Regions from separate parts of the Homo sapiens genome. Here all the other regions are linked to region 3. Evidence: promoter capture Hi-C in human tissues and cell types (Jung and others, 2019). All regions are on one chromosome and are shown on one strand. Each heading gives the region's core, a stretch centred on a gene start or on the middle of the fragment in contact. The rest is flanking DNA. Distances are from core to core; before and after follow the strand shown. Region 1 overlaps THOC5 (THO complex subunit 5). Region 2 overlaps LOC107985541 (a long non-coding RNA gene). Region 3 holds the start of RASL10A (RAS like family 10 member A).

Evidence for each region. Contacts are between HindIII fragments. The study calls those that stand out against the background at their distance.
Region 1: a fragment that was not itself captured here is called in contact with the fragment with the promoter of RASL10A in region 3 in 2 of the 25 tissues and cell types used here (H1 embryonic stem cells and stomach).
Region 2: a contact is called between a fragment that was not itself captured here and the fragment with the promoter of RASL10A in region 3, in 4 of the 25 tissues and cell types used here (dorsolateral prefrontal cortex, lymphoblastoid cells, spleen and 1 more).

Annotation. Positions count from the first base shown.
Region 1 is chr22:29,541,602-29,544,301 of GRCh38, reverse strand. THOC5 (THO complex subunit 5) reads left to right here. Exons shown (of 20, transcript NM_003678.5): 4 at 760-873; 5 at 1,346-1,443. Among named protein-coding and RNA genes, the nearest start is that of THOC5, 11 kb to the left of the region's middle. The HindIII fragment of the contact is 4,062 bases long and covers 1-2,700 here.
Region 2 is chr22:29,468,756-29,471,455 of GRCh38, reverse strand. It overlaps LOC107985541 (a long non-coding RNA gene), which reads left to right. Exons shown (of 4, transcript XR_001755482.2): 2 at 1-2,700. Among named protein-coding and RNA genes, the nearest start is that of NEFH, 10 kb to the left of the region's middle. RefSeq lists an enhancer at 812-1,312. The HindIII fragment of the contact is 5,351 bases long and covers 1-2,700 here.
Region 3 is chr22:29,314,404-29,317,103 of GRCh38, reverse strand. It overlaps RASL10A (RAS like family 10 member A), which reads left to right and starts at 1,407. Exons shown (of 3, transcript NM_006477.5): 1 at 1,407-2,076. The coding sequence starts at 1,858. RefSeq lists enhancers at 1,411-2,215, 2,216-2,700. The HindIII fragment of the contact is 15,140 bases long and covers 1-2,700 here.

The sequences.
Region 1 (2,700 bases), core at 74-2,573, 230 kb before region 3:
TTCTTATCACCATTCAGTCACCAATTACAGGAATGAAAGTACAGGATAATTAATTTTTTCCCTACTAATTTGATCATTCATCCAATTAATATTTATTAAGTGCCAGGCATTTTGCTAGGTGTTGAGAAATGATGGTACTTATACATTTGCTTGATACAAAGATGGATGTGTACAAGTAAATTGTAGATACCAAAAATGAAATTATCATTAATAGTAAATGAATAAATGAGGTTTTAGGGGCAGAGAAATTAAACAATGTGACTAAAAACTCGATAGATAAGTTTTTTAAAATCCATTTTTTCCCCCAGGAATCTCACGTATTTGTGCTTATGCTGACAAGTTTTGTTAGAATTATTGCATTCAATCTATTCTAGCCAAGCTTTATGGCTATAATTCTGTTATTTTCCATTTAAGTTATCCTGTAATGTTATTTATAGAGGTCAAATTTTATGACAAGATGTTACTATTGCTGGGATCTCTGTGTAGGATCTGTAGAGATAGATTGTGCCTTTGCTGCCCTTATTCCATCTTCAATTCCTGTTACTCTAGTCCAAGCAGAAATTACTTTTTTTTGCCCGAGATTCTTAATCATTTTCCTTATACAATCATCCTCTTATTTTCTTCATGACCCTTCTCATGGTTCTGAGCTCCCTCCGGTGCCGTTTTTGGCCCCAGATGAGGATGGGTCAGTGGTGAAGGACTGAAGGAAGCTGAGCTAGCCCTGTCGTCAGTGGGCTTTACTGTTTTCTTTGCCCACAGGCAATAGAAATAGAAGAACGGAGGATCCAGAGCTGTGTGCATTTCATGACTCTAAAGAAGCTTAACCGATTAGCCCACATCAGGTTGAAGAAAGGAAGAGATCAGACCCACGAGGTAGTAGTTAAAAGGTTTAATTTTAACCTTCCTCCTTCCTCCTCCCCATCCCCTTCTTTTTTTTTTTTTTTTTTTTTTTTTGAGACAGAGTCTCGTTCTGTCCCCCAGGCTAGAGTGCAGTGGCACGATCTCAGCTCACCACATCCTCTGCCTCCCAGCTTCAAGCGATTCTCCTGCCTCAGCCTCCTAAGTAGCTGGGATTACAGGCACCTCCCACCACCATGCCTGGCTAATTTTTGTATTTTTTAGTAGAGATGGGGTTTCACCTTGTTGGCCAGGCTTGTCTTGAACTCCTGAGCTCAGGTGATCCACTCGCCTCGGCCTCCCAAAGTGCTGGGATTACAGGCGTGAGCCACTGCACCCAGCCCCATCCCCTTCTTTATTCCCTTTACACCTTCTCTTAGTTTGCTGACCCTCTCCTCTGCTCCATCCTGACTTGCCCTGCTCACTTCTGATCGTATTTTCCTTTCAGGCTAAGCAGAAAGTAGATGCCTATCATCTGCAGCTCCAGAACCTGTTGTATGAGGTGATGCACCTACAGAAGGAGATCACCAAATGTTTGGAGTTTAAGTGAGTTTGGGAGGACAGGGCTTTGGCACATGTGGTCTTTCGGTAACTGCTTTTTCCCATGTAGCTCACTGTAAGTCTGTTTCTTTTTTTTTTTTGAGACGGAGTCTTGCCCTGTCACCCAGGCTGGAGTGCAGTGGCGCAATCTCAGCTCACTGCAACCTCCACCTCCCGGGTTCAAGCAATTCTCCTGCCTCAGCCTTCTGAGTAGCTGGGATTGCAGGCGCCCACCTCCACATCCAGCTAATTTTTGTATTTTTAGTAGAGACGGGGTTTTGCCATGTTGGCCAGGCTGTTCTCGAACTCCTGACCTCAGGTGGTCCTCCCGCCTCGGCCTCCCAAAGTGCTGGGATTACAGGCGTGAGCCACCGCTCCCAGCCTAAGTCTCTCTTTAAAAAGAAATCTGATGAGCTTAGAAAACTGTAGGATCTGGGAGAAGGGCAAATTGCAAGGGTGAATGTGGGAGAATTGCAAGCCGTGATTTCAGGCTGCATAAAGAACCTCAGAAGTCTCTCTGACCTTTTTGAGTTTTGAGCTCTGCACTTGGTAAAAAGCAGGTCTCTCTCCCTATCAGGGGTCTTTACATTACCAGTTTGATTTCTGGGCATGTTGTATGGGAGCAACTCACTTCCAGTCACATTCTTTTAACCTTTTGGCCCAGTTTTCCTTTCTGTAGTCCCAGCAGTTCATTTCTGCAAATGGATTTTATTCTTTGGAACCTGAATTTCTTGCTGCTTAGCTGCCTTCAGGTGAAGAAACTACAGTTTGTCAGTGTCCTTCCTCAAAACCAAGCTGAGAGATGAGAAGGAGGAAGGAGTAAACGGGAAGAGAAGGGGAAGTGTTCTCACTTGATCAGACCTGTTTATGCAAACTGAAAGCAGCTTTTATCTGTAACAAACTTGACATATGCAGGGGCCCTATTAGACATTGGGTCCAGGATATATATATATATATATATATATATATATTTTTTTTTTTTTTTTTTTTTTTTTTTTTTTTTGGAGATGGAGTCTTGCTCTGTCGCCCAGGCTGGAGTGCAGTGGCGTGATCTCGGCTCACTGCAAGCTCCGCCTCCCGGGTTCACGCCATTCTCCTGCCTCAGCCTCCCGAGTAGCTGGGACTACAGGCGCTTGCCACCACGCCCGGCTAATATTTCGTGTTTTTAGTAGAGACAGGGTTTCACCGTGTTAGCCAGGATGGTCTCGATCTCCTGATCTTATGATCCGCCTGCCTCAGCCTCCCAAAGTGCTGGGATTACAG
Region 2 (2,700 bases), core at 77-2,576, 150 kb before region 3:
CCATGTTATTCATGTCACTGTAATCCATCTTGGGCTGCATTTCACAAGCCAGCATTGAAGAAAGCTGGGCTCAGAGAGCCTTAGAGACCATCAGTGGTACAGATGAGGAAACCGAGGGCAGGCCTGGTTCTCACTGCCTCGCCTCTGGTTCTGCGACTGGAGCTCCGTGAGGACAGGAACCAGGACTTGGATGTTGTTTTCTGGCTTGGCAGGGTGCTTTGCCTGTGATCACAGTCATTGCCTTTTACTAGGTGCTTATAAGGTGCCAGCCCCTTTATGTGTTTTTCCACGTTTGCATATCCACAGGGAAGGGAGGTGCAATTATCCCCATTTACAGATCAACAAACAGGTGTAGGGAGGTTAAGTAATTTGGTTATTTATCAGTGTCTTCTGGTTCCTTTCATAAATTTATCTGGGTTCCACTGTAGCCTCACAACATTGTCATCAAACCCACTTTCGGCGGTGCAGTGGCTCACACCTCTAATCCCAGCACTTTGGGCGGCCAAGCGAGAGGATCGCTTGAGCCCAAGAGCTCGAGACCAGCCCAGGCAACACAGAAAAACCTCATTTCTACAAAAAATAAAATAAAATAAAAATAGCTGGGTGTGGTGGCGCGCCTGTGGTCCCAGCTCCTCGGGAGGCTGAGGTGGGAGGATCGCTTAAACCTGGAGAGGCGGAGGTTGCAGTGAGCCGAGATCACGCCACGGCACTCCAGCCTCGGCAACAGAGCGAGACCCTGTCACAAACGAACACTCTCCAGAGGGGGAAACCGAGGCCCTGGGACTGCAGAACCGGTTTCTCTGCCTCGGCATACTGCCTCGGCTGGCTCTGCGCTTGATAGAATCGCGCCAGCAACAGCGCCCCCTGCAGGCGACGGCGGGCACGCCTGCGTCACAGCCATCCCCGCCCTTCCGCAGTGGGAACGCCCGAATGCTTCATCCGGCCTCGGAAGATTGAAGAGCGCTCCTCCAAACTGGCTCAGGGAAGCCGGGCGCGCCGCCTTCAGCCCCGCCTTGGCCGCCGCGGCGTCGCATCAGTGGCATCCCCAGGGGCTGCAGGAAGGTAGCCGTAGCCTTGGCTGTCGTGGCTTCCCTCATCGTAACGGCCTGGGGGCAGCGGTGCTCAAAGAACTCAGGGGGTGGGGCTCAGGTAGGGGCATGGCCGGTGCTCTTCCTAGGGGCGGGATCCTGGGAAAGGGGATCGTCCCAGAAGGACCCAGCCACAAGCGAGGACACCGGTGCATCAAGCCCTGGCGCCTGTGTTTCCGTGAACAGCGCCCTTCTCCTCCTCCCCAGACATTGGTCCTGGCACCTGTGTGTCCGTGGGCAGCAGCCTCTTCCTCCTCCCCAGACCTCAGTTTCTGCACGTGTGAAAAGGGGGCTCTTCCAAGACTCTTACATGAATGCAAAAATCGGGATTTCGTCCAGCATGCTCAGAATTGTCGACCCTACACAGGCACCTGAGAAATCAGAGCTGAGTCAGGAGAGCCGGTGTGGATGTACTGGGAGCTCCTTCCCTTGCTGCGTCAGCACTCTTGAGACTGGAGAGCCCTGGAGGTTGGGGACCGGCCACTTGCTGGTGGACCAGACTCCCTGCAGTCTGGGATGGTGACAGACATGAGACATGGCTGTGGAAGTAATTGGTAACAGTAGTAGCCCGCATTTATTGAGCACTGACTATGTGCTTGGCTTTGTGTGAAGGCCAGTCACATGCATTATTTCCCCCTCCCACAGCCTTGTCTGGTGGGTACTGCTATTCTGTCCCCAGTTTACTGATGAGACATTTGAGGCCCAGAGTTGCTGGGTAGTAACCAGTCCAAAGTCACCCTGCTGACAAGTAGCTGAAGCAGTAGTCCCCAGTCTTACCTACTATACTGTACTGAGAAAGGTTTGACCTGGAAGGCAGAATGGCAGAGGGGGAAATGACAAGGTTCTAGCAGTATTAATAATAGATACCATGCATTGAGCACCCACTAAGTGCTGGGTGCTGGCCCAAGGGCATTTCATGAATCATTTATCCTCCTGACAGTGAACCCTATACTGTAAATTTTATTTCCATTTCAAAGGTGAAGCTCGGAGAAGTCACTTTATATGCCTTAGGGCACATATAGTAAAAAACTAACTTTTCGATTCATTGATGGTGCATTCTGCCTGCCTGCATGTCACTCTTAGGCATATTCCACTCTTCTCTGAGTCAAGCTTTCTCCTACTGTGAAATGAGAGGCTTGGACTGGGAGACTTTGAATGTTCTTTCCCCAGCCGATGTTGTTTGATTTTAGGGAGTTTTGACATGAATGTTGGAGATCTGGATTTGAGGATTACATTTGTTCCTAATTAACTGTAATTTAGGCACATCTCTGCATCTCTGGGCTTCAGTTTCCGCATTAGTAAAAGGTAAGACTAGACCAGGCATGTTGGCTCATGTCTGTAATCCCAGAACTTTGGGAGGCTGAGGAGGAAGGAGGATTGCTTGAAGCCAGGAGTTTGAGTCCAGCCTGGGCAACAAAACAAGACCCTGTCTCTACAATAAAAAAAAATTAAAAAGTTCAAATTAGCCAGGTGCAGTGGCTCATGCTTGAAGTCCCAGCTACTTGGAGAGCTGAGGTGGGATACTCACTTGAGCCCAGGAGTTTGAGGCTGCAGTGAGCTATAATCATGCCACTGCGCTCTATCCTGGGCAACAGAGCGAGGCCCCGTCTCT
Region 3 (2,700 bases), core at 158-2,657:
TCCTAGTGGCTGAGGAGAGGAGTGAAAGCGGACCCCAGCCCCCGATCTAGCATGGGAGGATGAAAGCACAGCCATTGTTCTGGAGACACTTTCTGGTTGTCATTATACAGGCTCCCTGGAGGATGTGCCTCCTCCCCCTTCAGGATTTAGCTCCTCTACTTCCCCTGGGCTGGTGTGGGCACATTGTCTGTGCTTTGACAGTCCCTAGATCCCATGTGTTCTAGAACCTTCTCTCCCAAAGCAGAACTTTTTTTTTTTTTCCTGTTTTCTGTTTTTTAAATCTATCTCAGCCTCCTGACAAGCAATAAGATTTGGAATATTTGTTGAGGGGATAAATAAATGAACTCCTTAGTCAGTGCAGAGATCTGTGCATTGCGGCCATTTCTTGAGCATTGCCGCCATTTCTTGAGCATTGCCATGTGCAGGTCAGAGACGTGGGAGCCCCCACACAGCGGGGAGGAGAGCAGAGGCGGAGGATGGGGGGGCTGGGCTAACCCAGGCTTTCCAAGCTGTGATGGGGCAGGAGCTTCTCCACTAGCTCGAGGGAGGGGGAACTTGGGCTCTGGGCGCCTGTTTTGGAGGTTGCATCCCTTTGAGGGGCGCTACGGGTTGCAACTCACGCAGGAAAGGTGACCTTAGTAGTGATGGAGGTGGAGTGGGCCAATTTCTGGATCTTTATTTAGTCACCTCCAGCCTTGCTGGGACAGGGATCTGGGGCTAAGCTGCTGTGGTCTCGGCACCCTCTGTCCCCACTTCCCCTCGAGGACGGCTGTTTGAATATTGTCTAGTGTGGGCCATTTACCCCCGTGGGCAGGAGGAAGGTAGGAGGGACTTCAAAGGAGACTTCAAGGGCCCCCCCACTGCCCTTCTAACCTTGCAGATTCCCCTCTCGGGCCTGTTTCCTCTTCTCTCAACCAGCGATGCCAGGCTGAGGCTGTAGGTTCGAGAATCACGTAGGTAATGGGCCTGGCACATAGTAGGCTCTCAAGAAAAGGTTGGAGCCTCTTGAGGAGTCTGCCTGTGATGGATGCGGAGCGCAGACCCAGCGCAGTGCGGCGATTCGCCCAAGGTCACACAGCCGCCCCCCCCAATTCGGACCCCGGGCGGCCTGACTCCGGGGGCCGGGGCTTGTCGGGAGCCAGCGTGGGGGCGAGCAGTGTTTGGAAGAGCGGCCGCGGCAGTGGGTGGGAAGGGGCTTCTATTTTGGAGCGGGTGAGAGGAGCGGGACACGCGGAGGAGGTAAGGAAGGGGTAGGCCCTCTCCGGGATCTCTGTCCCCCAGTCACCTTCCTGCGACCCTTCCTGGGAGGGGCGTCCTGGGCGGTGGGGGAAGGTGGGAGGGGCGGGCGGTTACCTCATCGCCGCCTCCGGGAGGCCCCGCTCGCTCGCGCCGGCGGCTGGGGCGGCGACTCCAGGCGCGGAAGCGAGAGAAGGATAGAGGCACAGAGGCTCCGGGAGGCAGCGCTGCCCCCCGCGCCCCGCACCGCTGCGGGACCCGCGCCGCGAGAGGGGCGGACTTCGGCGCCTCGCGCGTCCGCCGGCGCCTGGGTTGGCGCTGCGGGGCGGAGGCGGTGTCTGAGCGCCGCTCCGGCTCTGCTCTCTCTCGAGCTTCGGCACCCGCCCGAGCCGCTCGCGCGCCCGCCACCTGTCTGCCCACTCGGCTGTCTGTCTGCCCTCCCGCCGCCAGCTCCTGCCTCGGGCCTGCCCTCTCCGGTCTCGGTGCTCCGAGGGGCGACGAGAAGCGCGACGGGGCCGTGGCGCACCGGGCAGGGCGCGCGGGGCGCACGGCCTGGGGGCGCACGGTGCGGCGCCGGCCCATGAGGCTTTCCAGCGCGGGGAGCGACAGCGCCGGCCGGCCATGGGGGGTAGCCTGCGGGTGGCCGTTCTAGGCGCCCCGGGCGTGGGCAAGACGGCCATCATCCGCCAGTTCCTGTTCGGTGACTACCCCGAGCGCCACCGGCCCACGGACGGGCCGCGCCTCTACCGACCCGCGGTGCTGCTCGACGGCGCCGTCTACGACTTGAGCATCCGCGACGGCGACGTCGCTGGCCCCGGCTCGAGCCCCGGGGGTCCGGAGGTAGCGGCTCGAGGAGCGGGCAGGGGCGTGTGACAGTGTGAGGGGTGTGCGTGCTCGGTGCACACGTGCGTGTCCGCGTGGAGGCCTCGGGCGCCTGGCTGTGCTCCGGGATGGAGGGATGTGTGTGCGTCCTGGGATACTTGCGTTTCAGCCCTTCCCGCCGACCTGGAGACGCCCAAGCCCAGGCTGGAGGCCGGGCGATTTTGCCCAGGGGCGTTCCCTTGCTCCTGTGAGCGCCTCCACCTTTGCCTGCCTCGGCTGGGGGTGTGGAGCAGCTCTTGGTGGTGCATAACGGTGCCTTCCCGAGAGTGTGGCGTTTTGTGTTTGGGGCCTTGAGCAGAGCTACAATGGGAGAGACTGGGGTCAGGAGCAGGGGTGTACTTTCTACGGGGGCTGGTGGAGGGGTTCATTCTCTGCCCTATCATTTTTGTCCCCTGGAGCGAAGACTCGTTTAGTAATTTGTGCAAAGTAAAGGACAGACCTCCGACCCTAGAGCAGTGAAGAGGAAAGAGCAGGCAGGATTAAGCAGGGCTTCCTGGAGGGAGTGGCATTTGAGCTGAACCTGGAAGACCGAGTGAAGTTCTGAGTAAAGGAAGTGGCAAAAACATACCAGGTGGAAAGACC